Linked DNA regions of Homo sapiens: all the other regions are linked to region 2. Evidence: promoter capture Hi-C in 16 types of primary human blood cells and fetal thymus (Javierre and others, 2016). All regions are on one chromosome and are shown on one strand. The core of a region is centred on a gene start or on the middle of the fragment in contact, and the rest is flanking DNA. Distances in the headings are between cores, read along the strand shown. Region 1 holds the start of PIK3C2A (phosphatidylinositol-4-phosphate 3-kinase catalytic subunit type 2 alpha). Region 2 holds the start of MYOD1 (myogenic differentiation 1). Region 3 overlaps SERGEF (secretion regulating guanine nucleotide exchange factor).

Evidence for each region. Contacts are between HindIII fragments. The CHiCAGO score rates a contact against its expected background, and 5 or more counts as called.
Region 1: the fragment with the promoter of PIK3C2A here is called in contact with the fragment with the promoter of MYOD1 in region 2 in 3 of 17 cell types (M0 macrophages, M2 macrophages and M1 macrophages); the score reaches 12.2 in M0 macrophages.
Region 3: a fragment that was not itself captured here is called in contact with the fragment with the promoter of MYOD1 in region 2 in 3 of 17 cell types (M2 macrophages, endothelial precursors and megakaryocytes); the score reaches 6.6 in M2 macrophages.

The regions. Positions count from the first base shown.
Region 1 is chr11:17,206,160-17,210,515 of GRCh38, reverse strand. PIK3C2A (phosphatidylinositol-4-phosphate 3-kinase catalytic subunit type 2 alpha) reads left to right here and starts at 2,530. Exons shown (of 33, transcript NM_002645.4): 1 at 2,530-2,668. RefSeq lists silencers at 2,382-2,461, 2,812-3,071 and enhancers at 2,602-2,711, 2,217-2,739, 2,740-3,263. The HindIII fragment of the contact is 7,601 bases long and covers 1-2,569 here.
Region 2 is chr11:17,718,111-17,722,045 of GRCh38, reverse strand. It overlaps MYOD1 (myogenic differentiation 1), which reads right to left and starts at 2,475. Exons shown (of 3, transcript NM_002478.5): 1 at 1,634-2,475; 2 at 1,066-1,144; 3 at 1-791. The coding sequence starts at 2,263. The coding sequence ends at 538. RefSeq lists enhancers at 503-1,014, 1,015-1,526. The HindIII fragment of the contact is 6,670 bases long and covers 1-2,993 here.
Region 3 is chr11:17,998,798-18,003,041 of GRCh38, reverse strand. SERGEF (secretion regulating guanine nucleotide exchange factor) reads left to right here. Exons shown (of 11, transcript NM_012139.4): 5 at 2,485-2,545. Among named protein-coding and RNA genes, the nearest start is that of SERGEF, 12 kb to the left of the region's middle. The HindIII fragment of the contact is 3,312 bases long and covers 1-3,196 here.

The DNA of each region.
Region 1 (4,356 bases), core at 1,281-3,780, 510 kb after region 2:
GGAATATTTGTGGTACTGGGAAGTTGTCTGTGGGAAGTTAGGATTGAAACAGTGAAAAATGTAAGGCCTCTGCCTGTAATCCCAGCACTTTGGGAGGCCTAGGCAGGCAGATCACTTGAGGTCGGGAGTTCGAGACCAGCCTGACCAACACGGAGAAACTCTGTCTCTACTAAAAATACAAAAATTAGCTGGGTGTGGTGGCACATGACTGTAATCCCAGCTACTCAGGAGGCTGAGGCAGAAGAATCCCTTGAACCAAGAGAGGCGGAGGTTGTGGTGAGCCGAGAGCACACCATTGCACTCCAGCCTGGGCAACAAGTATGAGACTCTGTCTCAAAAAAAAAAAAAAAAAAAGTGAAGCCAGTGGAAGAAAGGAAACAGGAGAAATGGTTGCCAGCTATGTTCTAGTTGGTTCCAAATGACAGCAGCACCAGTTTGTACTGTCTCCCAGAAGTCTGTGTTCCTACTGTTTACACATGCATCTTCACAAGCCATTGCTGACAGATGAGATATGCTGAGAGAGGGTTACCTGTTCAGATTCTTGACACCTGGCAACTTGTGAAAGCTAATTTTTTTGGAATCTGGAAAACTATCAAACTCCTTTTCTTTCTCTTCACCTTATTGGGAACCTTTTGGTTGATCAGAGCCTACCATGTATCAGTCATTCAAAAGCTATAATAAAATAATGAATTCAGAACTGCAACAAGGAAGTGACTCAAGGACCAGGGCCCTCTGCTGCTGAGACTCAGGGGAAATACGTTTCATTAAAAAAAAAAATTAGAAGAAAAAATCCAGTCTGTCTCGCTGGATCAAAAAAAAAGAAAGGAAGAAAGAGAGAGAGGGAGAGAGGAATAAAGAAAGAGAAAGAAAAAGAAAGAAAGAAAAAGAAAGAAAGAAAGAAAGAAAGAAAGAAAGAAAGAAAACAAAAGAAAAAAAAAAGACAGACAAATAGTTACTCTTTCCTGAAGACTCAGTGTTCTCCCAAGGCCTCTTCCTTCTTTCCTGAAGGCACACTCAGATCTGGAGCAGAAGCTAGGAAGCTACCCTGAGATAAATCACTTTCCCCACCCTTTTTAATCTTGTGAAAGAGCTGCTGCCAATTTTAGAAATTCCTCCTTTGATCAGAAGATAAAGCAGAACAATGCTGCGGAACTAAGTTGATTTCTAAGGGACATTCTTCTAGAGTGTGTAGCCTGCCTGGAAGTGTGTGTGCATAGAGGAGGGGCGGGGTTGGGGGAAAGATAGGAGTTGGAAGGGGGGGGGGTGTACAACAGCCAGTAGCTACAGCCGTAAGAAATAATCACATTTGTTTCTAGAATTCCCCATAGAATAGAAACTCCATCCAATTTTACCATCCCTGCGGAGGTGCAGGCATGTTTATTACAGCGCTATGAGGGATTCATCCACTCCACATTCCCCATTGCCCTAGCCCCCTTTCGCCAACCCCCGTCCCTGCCAAATCAGGCCAATTTCTTTCTTTCCAGTTATTTGCTGAAAGTTCAACTTCTCTTAGAGCCTTCTAATTATGCGTATATCATATAGGCTGATAATTTTTAGTTTAGGCTGAGAAATGCAGCCTAAATCAGTCTGCCACATCAGATTGTGAACGTCTGGATGGTGTGGACCCCCTTCTCCTACTGCTTAAAAGACAATCTTGTTGTAAAACGCTATGGAATCGTTCCTCTCCCCTTAACATCTTTGTGCCCCAGAAGCCCCATCTGTAAATGGGGATAATTTTCCTATATCTTCCCATGGTTACGTAATTTTTAGATCTAACACGTGAGGACCAAACGCTTTACAAGCATAATCTCATTAAATTCTCAATAAGAATATATTATTATGGAGGTTGCATGTGAAAATACTTTGTAATGTAGAAAGAGCCGTCTGGCTGTGAGTTATTATCAGGGGGTTATCTTCCTTACCTGGCTGTTGTGAGGATGAAACGAGACGCCGACCTGAAAGCGTTTTACGTGCTATCAAGCATTTTACAGAAACCACGTGATAGGCTACTAATTACCCACCGTATACCACCTGACCCACCGTGAGGCCTCGGTAAATACTGGTTGGAGTGGACGAGTTTAAGTCTTGCCTGTTCCTTTCAGTCTTCCAATCACAAAGTAATCTCGGCGCCGCCAGGGGCCAAGACACAAATCTGGGAACCTCAGCCTAGATGGAGGAGGGTGCGGGGTCCCGGGAGAGGGGATGAGAACAATAGGGTACTTCAGTGCCCGGGCCCTGTTTAGCGGGTCTTCGGACTCAGGGCCCGAGGGGCGGCCAGCTGGGGTGTCCGGAGAGCTCCCCTCCCCAGGTCTGGGGTGTGCACGGAGAGGCGTCCAGAGCCTGCTCAGCATTCCTCGGGAGAGAGCCAGACCCTGGTCCCCCGGGCCCGTGCGCCCCAGCGCCCCAGCTCCCTTGCTCACGCCACCCCGGCAGCGTCCAAGCCCCGCCCGCCAGCTCAGGTAGGCCGTCCGCGCCAGCCAATTCGCAACAAGTCCGGGCGGGGAAGGCGGTGCTTCCCTGTCCGGAAGTGACGTGCTGCGCTTGGCTGGCTGTGGAGTCGGCCGAAGCTTTCGGCGGCGGCTGAGCCAGCTGAGGGGAAAAATGGCTCGGACTGTGGCGGCTTCGGCGGCTCAGGTTGTGGTAGAGGCGGAGGCTCAGGCAGCTTGAGGTGAGGAGCGGTCGGTGCGGCTGGGGACGATATTCGGGGTCCTGCTCTGCAAGGGTGGAGAGGGGCCCCGGGGTTCCCGGGCTGGAAGGGTCTCTTGTCGCGGCCCCCAGTGCCTTGGGTGCCCGCGTCTGACCCTCCATCCCGTGCTCTTGGCGTTGCCCAGCCCGACTCCCCCCTCCCTCCGGGCCTTGCTTCCACCCAGGCCGTGAGCAAGTGCTGCGCTGGAGGTGCGAGGAGCCCGCGTCCCCACCAGGCCCCTCTTCTCGGGAGCGGAGGTGCGCCAGGGAGTTAGTTTTGTCCCACAGAAGGAGGGCAGGCCCCCCGGCCGCCGGCCCCCCTCCCCCGCCTTGTCCCGCGGGACCGGGCTGGAGCCGCAGTGGCCGGTCCTATTTTCTTGGCAGATTGTTAGTTCTGGCGAGTGTGTGTGTTGTACTTCTCAGTGACGGCCCCTTCTTTCACCTCCTGTCCCATCTCTGGCTCTGGGGGCCAAGGATACTTTTTCTTCTTCCCGGACCCCCCACTCCCACCGCGTTGCCTTTAGCCGCGAATCCACTTGCTTTGGGAACACTATTCTTTCAGTGTGTATTTAGCGCATCATCCTTCTGAGAGAGCGGTCAGATTAAAAAATACTAGCTTAACTCTTCCTGAGTGACGGAGGAATCATAAATAATTGAAGAAAAAGGCACATACTTATTTTCCTCACTGAATTTCTGGCTTTAAAAACGACATTCTCTAGCTGTGGAATTATTTTTTGGGGGAGGAGGGATTGAGGAGGGAAATGAGGAAGGAGAAACTAAGGAAAAAAGTCTGGACATAACGTGGAAGAGAGAGCCTGTTGTAGTTCTTTTCCTATACTGGCCCGATAGAAATTGAGGTTATAATTATATTCTTATTTTGAACAGTGGGGGTTTGAATTAAGTGAAACGAAGGAGGCCTGCCTCTTTGAACAAGATTAGTTATTAAAGAATGTCCTGAAATCTTTCCTGGTGGGTTTCAGGCAGAAAAGCTCTGTTGGGAAAATTTTTAAATCTATTGTAGCATCAAAGGCCACAGCATATAAGAGATGCAAGAAGAAGAAAGCTGTTTGTAGGGGAACGGTGAAGACATAGTAGAAAGAGGGAAGGCTGCACAGAAGTCCAGGAACTAATTCCAGGAGAGACTTTGTACCTTTGCCTCCTTGGCTTGTGGTTCAAGTCTCCACAAGAGACTCCTTTAGCAGCTCTGCCATAGTTGGGGTTGGTGCTCTTTTTTTTTTTTTTAATTGACATGGGGTCTCACTGTGTCGCCCAGGCTGGTCTACCATGCCCAGCAGAATGGTGCTTTTTTTTTTTTTAAATTTGATCTAACCTTATCTGGACAGGATGGTGCTCTTATTCACAGCAGCAAATTAGACGAAAGGACCCTAGTTGAAGTATACAGATTTTATTTTTATATAAGATATTTGTTTAGTATCAAGACAGTGGTTACATACTGAAAAACAATGTAACTGGGAATAGAGAGATTTTATTTGTTAACTCAGATTTAGTTCAAAAGTGATTTTACGTAGGTAGAAAGCACATATGGAGTTTCTTCCATAAATTCCGTAATTTTGGCTGAATTAATACATTCTAAAGTAGGTTTTTTCTTATCAAAGTGTCTTGCTATTTGTGTTTTATATGCGTGTTTCCTGCAGTTTTCTTTGCAAATAA
Region 2 (3,935 bases), core at 1,226-3,725:
ACCACACACCATGCCTCAGAGATAAATACAGCCCCAGGGGCTCCTGCTCTGGCAAAGCAACTCTTATTTACAGGAATAGATTACAAAAGTATTACAAAAAGTGGTCCTGAACCGGGAAACGGGTTGGGGGTGGGTTACGGTTACACCTGCTACATTTGGGACCGGAGTGCACTGGGTCTCACGCCCCCCCAAATAACCGGTGCATCCCGGGGCAGGGCTTAGGTCTGCGAGGGTCTCACCCCCATGGGGGAGGGCGCGAGAAAGCTGAACCTAGCCCCTCAAGGTTCAGCTCTGGCCCACCGAGGAACACGGAGCGGCCATCGCAATGGGTCTCCGAGAAGGGTGCTGCGTGGAAAAAACCGCGCTGTGTCCTTGCCCTGTGGGGCGGGGGCGGAAACTTCAGTTCTCCCGCCTCTCCTACCTCAAGAGAGGTCGCTTTTAAAGCGCTGTTGGGAGGGGGGCATTTAAGTTCAATCTTTTGGGCGCGAGGGACCCTAGGGGCACCATCCCTCGGGCGGGTGGGCGGCCACCATCCCCTCAGAGCACCTGGTATATCGGGTTGGGGTTCGCACCCGCAGGGCACTGCGGGGCGGCGTCCGGTGACTGGGTGGGGTCGCCGCTGCTCTCTCCCTCGCTGGGGGCGGCAGCCTCTTGCCTGCGCGGAGGCGACTCAGAAGGCACGTCCGCCAGCAGGAGGGCGGGCGCCGCAGGGCTCTCGGTGGAGATGCGCTCCACGATGCTGGACAGGCAGTCTAGGCTCGACACCGCCGCACTCTTCCCGGGCCTGGGTTCTGCGCGGGGAGGGCTCGGTTAGTAAGCAGGGGTGGGGCCGCGACAAGCCTCCCACCCCCGGGCCCAGTACTTTGAGACAGATTGGAAACTGAGGACTTTAGTTAGAGTCCGGGACAATCCAAAAGACAGGGAGCTACTTGCTTAGTATTTCATCTCCTGCACCACTTCCCAGGACATAGGCGTGTGTGAGTGGGGGTGGGAGCGTCCTAGATAGAGGCCAGGACAGCTCCATGAAGGAGGAGGAGCGAGCAGGGAGAGGCCCGGAATACCCACCGCTGGGCGCCTCGTTGTAGTAGGCGCCTTCGTAGCAGTTCCGCCGCCGGGCGCCGCTCGGGGGGCCGCTGTAGTCCATCTGCAAACAGCAAGGGCGACTGAGTCAGGCCCGCGGGACGGCTCGAGGCCCGAACACCAATTCCTGTAGCCGCCCCCTCCCTAACTCTAGCCTAAGGCTCTAGTTCCGGGCCCAGACCTGTCCTGGTTGGGGGGGTAATTACGGGTGGGTAGGAGATGAGGTCTGCAACATGCAGGGCCAAACCAAGGGCGGACAGTCACCAAGGGGCGCAAATTTACATTTTGGAAGTAGGGATAAGTAGAGAAAAAGATCTTCACGTTCGCGCTGCAGTGTTCTAATAGCGCCCCCAATGGGGCAGCTCGAACGCTTGCCCGCACACTTCCAAAACAGGCTACCCCAGTGACAGCTGCCCAGGACAAGGGGGTCCTCTCTCTCGGGAAGGATCCTGGCCCAAACCTCCCGCAAGGCCAGCTCCCCGCCCTCGGAAACGCGTCCCTGATATCCCGAGCGCCGCCCTAACTTCCTCACTTCCTGGGGTCCCGGCCTTACCATGCCGTCGGAGCAGTTGGAGCGCGGGCTGGACGCGTCGGAGTCGCCGCTGTAGTGCTCGCCGCCGCGGCCCGGGGGCAGCGGGCCCGGCGCATAGAAGGCGGCTGCGGCGCCAGGGGGCGCGGCGTCCTGGTCGCGCAGCAGAGCCTGCAGGCCCTCGATATAGCGGATGGCGTTGCGCAGGATCTCCACCTTGGGCAACCGCTGGTTTGGATTGCTCGACGTGCAGCGCTTGAGTGTCTCAAAGGCCTCATTTACTTTGCTCAGGCGGCGCCGCTCGCGCATGGTGGCGGCCTTGCGGCGGTCGGCGTTGGTGGTCTTGCGCTTGCACGCCTTGCAGGCCCACAGTAGGCAGCGGCCCGCCTGGTGGTGCCCGCTGGGCGCGCGCACATGCTCGTCCTCACGTGCGCCCGGGGCCGGGTGCACCGCCGCGGGGAAGTGCGAGTGCTCTTCGGGTTTCAGGAGCGCGCCCACGTGCATCAGGCGCGGGTCCAGGTCTTCGAAGAAGCGCAGGTCCGGGGAGTCGAAACACGGGTCGTCATAGAAGTCGTCCGTTGTGGCAAAGGAGCAGAGAGAGCCGTCGGGGGCCGTCAGGTCTACGTCGCGGAGCGGTGGCGACAGTAGCTCCATATCCTGGCGGTGGCGCGGCACGGTCCTGGCTTCGCCCAACCCAAGCGGCAGAGAGTGGCCGGAACTTTCTGCCGCTCGGGAGCCCCGGCTGTAGATAGCAAAGTGCTGGCAGTCTGAATGCCCACCCACTGTCCCCCACCCCTCCCTCTCCTGTCCGGCCTGATTTGTGGTTAAGGAAAGCGGCGGCAGCGCCCCAGGGCTTCCTCACCCCTAGCTTCTCGCCAGGCGCCCTGGGCTATTTATCCGTAGTAGCCTAAACGCCCCGGAGCCCAGGCGGGCAGCTGGGGGAGGGGGAGTCCGAGGCCAATAGGAACACTGCGGGGCGGGGCTTGGGGGGGTCCCCGGGGTGGCCGCAGGGGCCCGCAGACTGGCCAGCCAGCCCGCCCCTCCACACTGGCGTGCGCGCTAGGTCCCCTACCGGGCAGGGAGGGAGGGAGCGACCGGCAGCCCTAGGCGGCTGCACTTGGCTCTCCGGCACGCCCTTTCCAAACCTCTCCAACACCCGACTGCTGTATCCGCGGGAAACGCTGGCTGCGCGCGCTCACCTCTGAGCTGACTTTCAATACTCCTCTGTCCCCTGATTTGTGGGGGACCCATGGGTAGAGCGGCTGTAGAAATCAGGTCGTGAGAGATTTGGAGAGAGGCAAGGCATTGGGGGCACAGAGCTGAGGAGTGAGACCGTGAAAGAGGGACCGAAAGAGGCTGAGAGACACGCAGAAAGCAGAAAGCTTAGAGCGTCAGGGGCAGAGAAACGCACGAGTGCAACAACAGGCGGAGAGACCCCGAGAGTTGAAGTGGGCGAGCCCGAGACAAACGGGTCGTAGAGGCTCTGATATTCCGCCAGTCCCCGACCTGGGAGTTGCTCAGCAGGTCGTGGGCCCAGTCCTTCTTCCCTAGACGCTTAGAAACCCAGCTATGGTTGTACAGGAATCGGAGATTGCTGCTAAAGCTTCGCGCCAATCTCTCCAAACTCGGATCCTGCCCAGGTTAGGAATCCCCTCCATCTAAATCTGCACGTTTCCACAGCAGGGGTGTCCAGTGCCATGCCTGGGGTCTAGGCTGAGCTGCCTCTTCAGCTGGGAAGAAAACCCTTCTGCTCGGGGCTTGGCTCCGCCTCACTCGCGGTGCTGAGTCAAGGAAAGTGCATTTCGCCAAGGTGTCAAACTTCAGGACCTGGCCTGAGAACCTGACCTCATCTCACCTGAAGTCTCCGAGAGTGCGGTTTGCAGACCAGTTGAGTGCAGACTCCAGAGTTTCCCAACTGTGTGATTTTGTGGAAGTCATGTCTCCTTCCTGAGCCTCAGTTTCCAGTTATAGATTTGGGGATGACAGTAATTTCTTGGAGTAATTGTGGTGGGGATGACAGTCTGAAGAGACCAAGGATATGGAAGCCCTCAGGCGGTGATGTAGGGTTATTCGAGCAAGGGGCTTTCAGAGTTGGATGCTGTGTCCCGCAGGCTTACAACTCATCTGTGGTACCATGCCCTGACGGAGTGCCACGAGTCTCCAGGCCTTAGCTGTGTCTCTTTCCTGCAGCCTCACTGGAAAGGCTGGAAACAGGAGGAGGCAACCACCCCATGGGATGTGGGATATCTGGCTCCCATACAAGCCTCAGCATACCGGCCACCCCCATGGGGGTCTCTCAGCCTCTTCCTGAATCTGCAGTTCACAC
Region 3 (4,244 bases), core at 291-2,790, 280 kb before region 2:
TATAGCTCCCAATTGCAAATAGATGGCCTTGTAAGCACCTACATATAAGTTATAATTAATTTAGCTTAATTATACTTTATATAATTAAGGAATAGAGGAACAATGGTTAAAATATGTTGGTTGACAGAATCAGAGAGTAAAAACATTTTGACAGGTGACATTCTATGCAACAATAGGAGCAATGTGCCAAAGAGAAATTTAATAGAAATTCATTCATTTATTTAATGACAACCATTATGTGTAGGTACTATGTTTAGGCAGTGGGAGCAAAGTTGAATAAGACCTGTCCTAGCAGTTGAGAGTTTTATAGTTTGGTAGGACATGATAGGCACATAAATACTTAAATGTAATACCATGTCAGAACTATGACAGATGCATGTATATCCCCAAAGGAGGGAGTTTTGAGCATCTGGGGGAAGGTGGGGTGAGAAGAGGCTTAAGCTAGGTCTCAAAAGTTAAATAGAGGTTTACCCGTCTTGGGATAGGAGGATGCTCAGAGTGGGTGCAAAAGAAGAACATTCTAGGCAGAAGGAACCATGTAAGCAAAGGTGCAACGGAATGAAACAGGAGAGTTTGGGATATCGTAAGTAGTTTAGTATGGTTGGAATATAAGGAAGAGGTGGAAGTTCCAGGGTAGAGTGGGTGGGAATGGGGCAATCAGGGTGGTTGTATGTGACACATGGTAAGAACAACATGGTAGGGAGGTCAGATAGGAAGATGGATTGAAGGAAGGTTACTGAGGAAACTCTTGCTAACAATCCAAATGAAACAATTGTGGCTCAAACTAAAGCAGCAACAGTTGGGATGGAGAGTAAGAGGTGGAGGTGAGTGGTGTTAAAGAGACTGAAGTCACATGTAAAGCCCTTCAGTTAGTTTTTTGGGGAAAAACAAAAGAAAAATATAAAGGACAATATGTTCAAATTGTATTAACGCTAAGATTTGATCTTCTCGTAAGCTAATGTGATTGTGGACTCCATTGACAGAAGTATAGTTTCCAGAAGAAGGAAGGCCAAAGCTCAGCCCTTTCTGCTGTTCAGCCTGCATCTGGGATGTTGTGTTTTGTTGTGGATTTGGTGCTTAGGCCCTGGGCATAAAGGTATATAAGACTCAGGTCCTGCCCTTGAGGGTCCTAAAGTTTAGAAAGACACTGTGGACCTGTAAATAAACAAATGTGGTAAGCCTTAATGGGGTTATGATTATGCTATAGAGTTCCTTTAAAAGAGAAAGATTGAACAACTAGAGCATATTTAGAGAAGTGAAGACCAGGAGGGGAAGGGAATTTGAAATCCAGTGATGGCTGATGAATGGGGGATATTTGCTTTGAAGAAAAGATCTTCATTAGTTATCTATTGCTGTGTAACAAATTACTGCAAACCTTAGCAGCTTAAAACAGCAAACATTTATTATGTCACAGTTTCGGAGAGTCAGGAATTTAGGAACAGCTTAGCTGGTCTCTCATGAAGTTACAGTTGAGATGTTAGCTGGGTCTGCTTGCAATCTCCGTGGACCTGTAAATAAACAAATGTGGTAAAGCCCTAATGGTTTCATGTTCCTTGCCATGTGGACCTTTCTATTGGACTTTTCAGACATAGCATCTGGTTTCCCCCAGGAGTGATGAGAGAGAGAGGGAGAGATGCTAAGCAGGAAGCCTTAGTGCCTTTTTTCGCCTAGACTCTGAGTCACTCATTGCTGCTTTATTCTCTTTATTAAAAGCATGTCACTAAGTCCAGCCCACACAAGGGGAGGGGTATTAAGCTCCACATCTTGAAGGGAGGAGTAGCAAGAATTTGAGGACCTATTTTTAAAACCACTACAAGATGTCTTAGAGAGGACATGACAACTGTCTTCAAATATTTGGAAAGCATTGTCAGAAGCTGCAGGCAGATAGGTTTGGTTCCACCTAAAGAGATAAATGGAACTGTGCAAAAATGGAACAGGCACCTGGGGAAATGGCGATCCCTATGTCACTGGGGGTAGGTGTTTGGCAGGAGTTGGATGACCACTTGGTGGGGTGTTGTTGGATGGAGATTGGACTAGATCATGTTGGGAAACTTTGAGCCCTTGGTAAATAAAGTCTTACTGGCACACAGTCATGCTCATTCATTTATGTATAGTCTAGAGCTGCTTTTATGTTACAATGGCACAGCTGAGTAGTGTGACAGAAACTGTGGCCTGTAAAACATTTACTAACTGTCCCTTTACAGAAAACATTTACTAACTCTTGGACTAGATGACCTTAGAAGTGCCTCCCAGCCCTGAGAGTTGTTGTCATATGGTATTGTGATATGGTATTTTAAAAGATATATTTTTTTCTTTTAGGGATAAATGTAGAGGTATTAATGGGTGGAAATATTGGGGGGAGTGGTTGCTTTAAACCAGTCAGACCCATAATGAGGACCGTACTGCATTGTATTTGGTATAAATTACATAAAATTTTGTAGATGGATGGTTCTGAGATCTAAATCCTTTTCTTTATTTTGACAGCTCCATAAAGAGAAGGTTGTTTGTATTGCTGCTGGACTGAGGCATGCAGTAGCTGCTACAGGTGATCATCTTATCTTTATTTTTTTATTTTTATTTTTAATACTTTTTAGAGATGGGGTCTCACTCTGTTGCCCAGGCTGGAGTGCAGTGGCTCGATCATAGCTTGCTGTAGCCTTGAACTCCTGAGCCCAAGCTGTCTAACTGCCTCAGCCTCCTGAGTAGCTAGAACTATAGGTGCATGCCACCATGCCCTGCTAATTTTTAAGATTTTTTGTAGAGACAGGGTCTCGCTATGTTGCCCAGGCTGGTCTTGAATTTCTGGCCTCAAGCAATCCTCCCGCCTTGGCCTTCCAAAGTACTGGGATTACAAGTGTGAGCCACTGTGCCCAGCCTGCCCTCCGCCTTTTAAAATAGGTCTGTAATAAGAGGAAACTTAACTTTAGGAGAAAAACCATTTAGGAAATATTTCAAAGGGTCCTGCTGCATTGTGGTTCTGATGAAAAGGAGAGAACATAAGGCAGAAGTCATGTAGGAAAGACATTAGCAGGTAGAGAGGAAGGAAATGAAGTTTTCTAGCTCTTTGTGTTCTAGGTATGATGCTAGGTGCTATTTATTTGATTACTTTATTTAATCCTCACAACCAGGAAGTGATGCGAGTTACATTTTACATGTGAAGAAACTGAGGCACAGAGTTAAAGTGCTTGTGTAAGCTTATACAGGGAGTAACGTAGAGCTTGGATCAGAGCCTGGGATGGTTTGGATCCTAAGGCTCATATTTTTTGCAGGGAACTGCACAGCCTTCCTAATGGATTTTATTGTTTATTAATTTAAAAGCTTTAAGTGAGCTTGTCTCCTGTACTGTGAGTGGGTGATGGGACTGACAGTCTGTGTGTGAGGGGGACAGGGAGGTGGCGTGTGGGAGAATGGTGACCCTTTTATCTCTCCCCTTTTCATTTTTTCTGCTCTTACTCCTTTTGAACTGAAGGACAGCACTAATTGGCTGTGGCAGCTGAGGCTCAGGTGCTTCGTGAGTCCACTTGTGGAGTGGAGGAAGGAGAGAGGAGGTGAGGAAGAGCTCAATGCAGGACTGTGCTGATAGTCCTGGGCTTAGCATTGATTATACTTCAAAAAAAATTCAACTTTTTATTTTGAGATAATTGCAGATGCACATGCAGCTGCAAAAATAAAACAGACCCTGTGTGTTCTCTCCCGGTTTCCCCTAATGGTATCTTGCAAAACTATAGTACAATAACATAATGAGGATATTAACATTGATACAGTCAAGATATAGAACAGTTCCATTACCACAGGAATCCTTCCTGTTGCCTTTCTATAGCCACACCCATTTCTACCTGCCTATAACCACTTCTTAGCCCTAGGCTAAGCACTCTTCTGTTCTCCATCTCTATGATGTTGTCATTTCAAAAATGTTCTATAAATGGTATCATACAGTATATAACCTTTTGAGGTTGGCTTTTTTCATTCAACATAATTCCGTAGACATTCATCCAAGTTGTGTATATCAGTAATTCATTCCTTTTCATTGCTGAGTAGTATTTGATGGTATGGATGTACCACAGTACTAATCTGTTAGGGCTGCCGTAACAAAATACCACAAACTAGGAGGCTGAAAGAACAGACATTTATTTTCTCACCATTCTGGAGGCTAAAAGTATTAAGATTATTGTGTTGTCAGGATTGGTTTCTCGTGAGTTTTTTTTTTTTTCCTGGCCTGTAGGTGACCACCTTCTTGCTCGGTT